Regions from separate parts of the Homo sapiens genome. Here region 1 is linked to region 2. The links are contacts of gene promoters, found by promoter capture Hi-C in blood cells and fetal thymus (Javierre and others, 2016). All regions are on one chromosome and are shown on one strand. The core of a region is centred on a gene start or on the middle of the fragment in contact, and the rest is flanking DNA. Distances in the headings are between cores, read along the strand shown.

Evidence for each region. The method cuts DNA at HindIII sites, captures the fragments that hold promoters and counts their contacts. A CHiCAGO score of 5 or more calls a contact.
Region 1: a fragment that was not itself captured here is called in contact with the fragment with the promoter of ADD1 in region 2 in 1 of 17 cell types (total B cells); the score reaches 5.8 in total B cells.

The regions. Positions count from the first base shown.
Region 1 is chr4:2,494,921-2,497,782 of GRCh38, forward strand. It overlaps RNF4 (ring finger protein 4), which reads left to right. Exons shown (of 8, transcript NM_002938.5): 3 at 2,087-2,201. Among named protein-coding and RNA genes, the nearest start is that of RNF4, 27 kb to the left of the region's middle. The HindIII fragment of the contact is 184 bases long and covers 1,322-1,505 here.
Region 2 is chr4:2,842,424-2,845,127 of GRCh38, forward strand. It overlaps ADD1 (adducin 1), which reads left to right and starts at 1,421. Exons shown (of 16, transcript NM_001354761.2): 1 at 1,421-1,601. RefSeq lists an enhancer at 193-704 and silencers at 833-882, 983-1,362, 1,423-1,612, 1,733-1,882. The HindIII fragment of the contact is 1,799 bases long and covers 727-2,525 here.

The DNA.
Region 1 (2,862 bases), core at 164-2,663, 350 kb before region 2:
GGTCTTTGAATAAATTTTGCTTTTAAGAGAAGTTACTATTTATTTCTAATTAGATGGGGAGGAAAGTCTTTGAAGAGGAACCTCTACTTTACTTTTTACATAAGCAACCTGGTGGCTGCTGGGGAAACCCTTAAAACACTGGGCAGTAGAACTCCACTGAGGTTAGTGTCAGCTCCCTTGAGGCCAAGAGCAGCTGCTCACTTGGGAGTTTTGGCTGCTGTCGCTTGGCCTCTGGGCCCTCCTGGGGCTGGTTCTGTGCTCCTTAGTCCGTGGGAAGTTACTAGACCCAGCTTCATTTCCAAAACATCTCAAGCTGCCATTTGATAAGAGTAGCATTGGAACACAGAATCAGGCTTATCCCTGTTGCCTAGCGAGGGCTTGGCTGGATGGTGGGTGTTCCTGGATCTTGTATGAATCTCTCCTGCAATATCTGGTCCTTTCAGAGTTTCCTGGGACAGATTGACCCTAGTAAGGCTAAGGAATTGGGATAGTAGTAGCATCTTCCGTCTCTGCGCAGTACTTTACATACATGATCTCATTTAGACCTTATAACAGCTCTGCAAGGCTGGTACTGGTGAGGAACTTGAGACTTAGTAGTGCAGTACTTGTCCCAGGTTGTCCAGTGCAAAGGATAGCAGGACAGGGCACAGGGAGAAGAGCACGGAAACACCAGTGGGAATACAAGGTGACAGGCTCTGTTGGGAAGCTCTTTTTTTTTTGGGGGGGGGTGAGATGGAGATTTACTCTTGTTGCCCAGGCTGGAGTGCAATGGCACAATCTCGGCTCACCGCATCCTCCACCTCCCAGGTTCAAGTGATTCTCCTGCCTCAGCCTCCCGAGTAGCTGGGATTACAGGCATGTGCCACCACGCCCAGCTAATTTTGTATTTTTAGTAGAGACGGGTTTCACCGTGTTGCCCAGGCTGATCTTGAACTCCTGACCTCTGGTGATCCGCCTGCCTCTGCCTCCCAAAGTGCTGGGATTACAGGCCTGAGCCACTGCGCCTGGCCAGCTCTGTCTCTTGATTAAGGTGGAGGATATTCTCAGCTTGTCTTTTGGGACCAGGCAGACCAGAAATGCTGGAGCATATTGGCAAACCAGCAGCCTAAGGATTTGGAAGAAAGGCTGGTCAGAGTGTCAGTTGCTTATCAACCAGCTGAGAGCCTGAACTTTCCGGAAGACATGGCTCTTGGGTAGCCACTGGGAACAGGCTTAAAACAGCTTTGGTTCTTTGAGTTCTTTGTGGGGAGTGATTGTCTGGTGTGAATCACAGTTGATAGTGCCCTGAAAGGTTCAAGGCCACATTTCCCAGGGGAAGATAAGCTTTCCACAATGTATAGAAACTCAGAAAACTCCAAGTTCTTTATGCTAAGAAACAAAAAGGGCTCAGAAAGGCTGAACACAAAGTCAAGGAAGAGAAATTGATAACTTTTGGTTAAAGGGAAGAGTTTCCAGCCTTTTGGCCAGGGCATCCACTACCAAGTCCAAATCCTGACTTGGCCTCAAGCTTTTGTAAAGGGATGCATCGTGTCCCTTTTGACCTGCTGATAGTTTTTTTGAGATGGAGTCTCACACTGTCACCCGGGCTAGAGTACAGTGACGCGATCTCGCCTCACTGCAACCTCTGCCTCCCAGGTTCAAGTGATTCTCCTGCCTCAGCCTCTGGAGTAGCTGGGATTACAGGTGCCTGCCACCACGCCCAGCTAACTTTTGTATTTTCAGTAGTGATGAGGCTTCACCATGTTGGCCAGGCTGACCTTGAACTCCTCACCTCATGATTCGCCCACCTCAGCCTCCGAAAGTGCTGGGATTACAGGTGTGAGCCACCATGCCCAGCCGACCTGCTGATAGTTTGATAAAACAGAAGTTTTACTTTCTGGAATTTCTACTCATTTTATGTTTTGGATGGTTTCTCTCTCCGTAAGCATTCAGTATTCTTGAATCTCAAGTTTTGAAAGGAGCCCTAACTTCAAGTCTACTCGCTGGCTTCTTAATGAAGTGAACCATTTCTATTGCCCATTTAGTTCTTCCTGAAACCCTGACATTCTGGTGTTCATGTGACTCTTCTTTCCCCCTTGCTACTCAGAGAAAGCGTCGTGGTGGAGCAATAAATTCTAGACAAGCTCAGAAGCGAACTCGGGAAGCAACCTCCACCCCCGAGATCTCCTTGGAAGCAGAACCCATAGAACTCGTGGAAACTGGTAAGATTGCCAGGGACACTACAACTGTGGGGTGTTAAAGTGGAGAGAGAACACTGTACCAGGGTGAGCTAGTAGAAGGTGCTTTCAGTGTCTTTAGAAGGCCTATGCAGTCTCACACTCACCATGTACAACTCAAAGCTTCACAGATTCTGAAATAGCTTCTCAACTGGGCTAACTGTTCAACTCTGGTAATGTGCAGCAGTGGGGTAGGATCCATTTAAAAAAAAATCTAGCGCAAATGAGATAGCCCACCTTTTCTATCTGAAACTGCATCCCCAATTGCTGGACCTTGTAAAGTACTTCGCTTTCCTCTTCTGTTTTTCATTAGGACATGAAATCACCCAAGAAGGCAAACTTGTCCACAGAGCTCCCTGTGTTGGAGCTTGGTATAGGCAGAGGCCAGATTGGATTTCCCCTTCTGCCTGCTCAAGAAGTGGTTGATGGCTGGCCTAAGTCCCTTTGCTCTGCATATATTGTTTTTATAACTAGGATACCTGCAAACTGGCATTTTATTTTTACTTATTTATTTTTGAGATAGAGTCTTGCTCTGTCGCCCAAGCTAGAGTGTAGTGGTGCAGTCTCGGCTCACTGCAAGCTCCACATCCTGGGTTCACGCCATTCTCCTGCCTCAGCCTCCCAAGTAGCTGGGACTATAGGCACC
Region 2 (2,704 bases), core at 171-2,670:
AAGGCACAAAACCCCAATAAATAGAATTTCCTTCTCTGCATAATGCTGCTATGAACATGGTACAAATAGCTGTTTTCATTTCTTTGGGGTATATATCCAGAAGTGGAATTGCTGGATTATGTGGTAATTATGTTTAATTTTTTGAGGAACCACTCTACGGTTTTCCACAGCAGCCACACCATTTTACATTCCCGTCAGCGATGCACAAAGGGTTCCAATTTCTCCGCATCTTTGCCAACACTTATTTTCTTTTTTTCCTCTTCTTCCTCCTTCTCCCCCCTTGAAACTTTTTGTTTTCTTCTCGTTTTTGTAGAGAACAGGGTCTCCTTATGTTGTCCAGTCAAGTCTGCCAACTCCTGGGCTCAGGCTATCCTCCTGTTTCTGCCTCCCTAAGTGCTGGGATTTTAGGCTGAAGCCACTGCGCCCAACTCCCTGCTTCTTCAACTGCCATCCTAATGAATGTTAAGTGGTATCCCACAGTGGTTTTGATTTGCGTTTCCCTAGTGATTAACTATGGGAAGCAGAAGTGAATGAGACAGAATTGTGATCTTGTCAGAAAAATCGTCTTGGAAAAGCCAACGTCCAACAGAAATGGTTAGAACAGGGGTCGCTGGCTTCCATCCAGACAGTATCCCTGACCCTTGTTGGGGCAATGTCACAGAGGCTCCTGCTGAGCAGGGAGGTCTGGATTCCACACTCTTCTGCCACTGCCCAGCTCTGGACCTAAGCTTTCTATGGGTGTCAAGAGGACAAGCAGCCGTGCCCATTTGTCTCGCTGCTTGTTTTTTTGGGTGTCAGATGCGCCAGCAGGAGGGACAGTGTGCGGGAAGGTGCTGGTCTGAGGCTGGTCCTGCCAAAGCCCCGCAGGCTCACTCCCTGGTCGTGCGGAGGTGGCTGGTGCTCGCTGGTCTCCTCAGCACCCGCAGGCCGGGCCCGGGGGCCAGGCAGTTGTCCTCTGTGGAGCCTTATCGGGGCCCACAGGCCCTGCTGCCTTGACCCCACCCGGGCCCCAAAACTCGGCCTGGGGACTGCACAAGGCGGGGCTACGCGGGGCAGGGCCCGTCTGCTGGGGGAGTGCGCTGGGCGGCGGCGGGAGGGCAGGGTCCCTGGGCTCCGACAGCCCCTCCGGCGGAGGTCAATCACAATGAAACCGTGTCCAGCGGACCCGGCAGGGGCTCGCCGCAGTCTACCTGGCCACCGTGAAGCCATGACCTGGCGCCCGAAGCTGCCGGCCGGGGTGTACTCCGCGCGGGACCCTGGGCCTCCGCAGGCCCCGGCGGGGTCGCCCCGAGGCGGGCCTGGCGAGTCCAATCGCCCTGCCCGCAGGGGACCCGCCCCTCATGGGTCCCGCCAATCGCAGGGTACGTTGCTCGGCAGTGCTGCGCGGCTTGGCCTATGGGACGGCGCGTTGTTGGGCTGCAGCGCCGCAGGCCGCACCCAGGTCGGGCGGTGGGGGCGAGCGGAGGGGCTGAGGGGCGGAGAGGCCTGGCGGGCCGCTGCTGCGGGCCAGGGGACGGGGGCGGAGCCGGAGCCGGAGCCGACGGGCGGTGGCCGCACTGGGACCCCGGAATCCCGCGCGCTGCCCACGATTCGCTTCTGAGGTGAGGCTAGCTAGCGGGGGCGGCGGGGGCCCGGTTCGGGCTGAGGCGGCGGCGGGGGCGCGGGGAACTGGGCCGCGGTTGCGGCGGGCGGGGGCCGCGGGGCCTGCGGCGGCCCGGGCAGCCTCGGGGGCGGGGAGGCCGCTGCGGCGCCGAGGGCGTCTTGGAGGGGTCCCCGCGGGGCCTTCGGCCTGGGCCGAGCCGGGGAGCGAGGGCGCCGCAGATCTTTCATCGGGATAGGACCCCGGGGACTAGGCTTTTCCCGGGCCGCTCGTTCCTGGCCGGCTTGTGGGCTGCAGGGGTGGGGGCGGAGGAGGACGACCCTGGCTGGACGCTGGTCAGCATCCTGCTTGTGAGACCGGTTCCGCGGTCCGCAGCGCTGGTGGCTGCAAGGTTTGTGTACGGACGCATCTGTCGGCTCTCGTATTTAAAAACGACGGCTTCTGCCAAAAGAGAAAAGCCATATCTGCCGACGGACGCTCGAGAGATAATCGTGGAACTTTATCAGCGATGGGGCTGTTGGTCACCTTTGCCCTCCCTCTCTTTTCTTTTTTCTTAATCTTTTATTTTCGTTTTTTGGGAGATGTCAGAGGGCCTTTCCCTGTTAGGATGACTTTTATCTTTGCTCTTGTAATGGCTCAAGATAGTTGGGAGGTAATTTGCATTCACTTTATGCATACCCACCTTGAAAAACGTATTTTGGTTCGCCTGAAACTGTTGTTGGTTTGAGCATAATTTATGTTTAGAAAGACAAAAAGCAATTGTCATATCTCCAAAGACCAAAGACATAGCTGATAGCTGTATGCATTACTGGTAAGTTAAAGAAAGATTTTTTGTGTGAAAAATTGACTGAGATCTTAATGGGGATAGGAAATAGAATGCTGATAGGTCGACTGTGTCTATGAGTAGAGGCGCCTAGTGAAAACAAGCTTGGAGTGGATGAGTAGGAGTTCAACAGGCACCAGAGAGAGGAGGGCATTTCAGGCAGAGGGTGTGAATTGTATGAAAGTGAGTTTGTAAACTTTGGAGCCTTGAATGGACAAAGGCCCGCGATGATACCTTTTTTTTTTGAGACGGAGTCTCGCTCTGTCGCCAGGCTGGAGTAC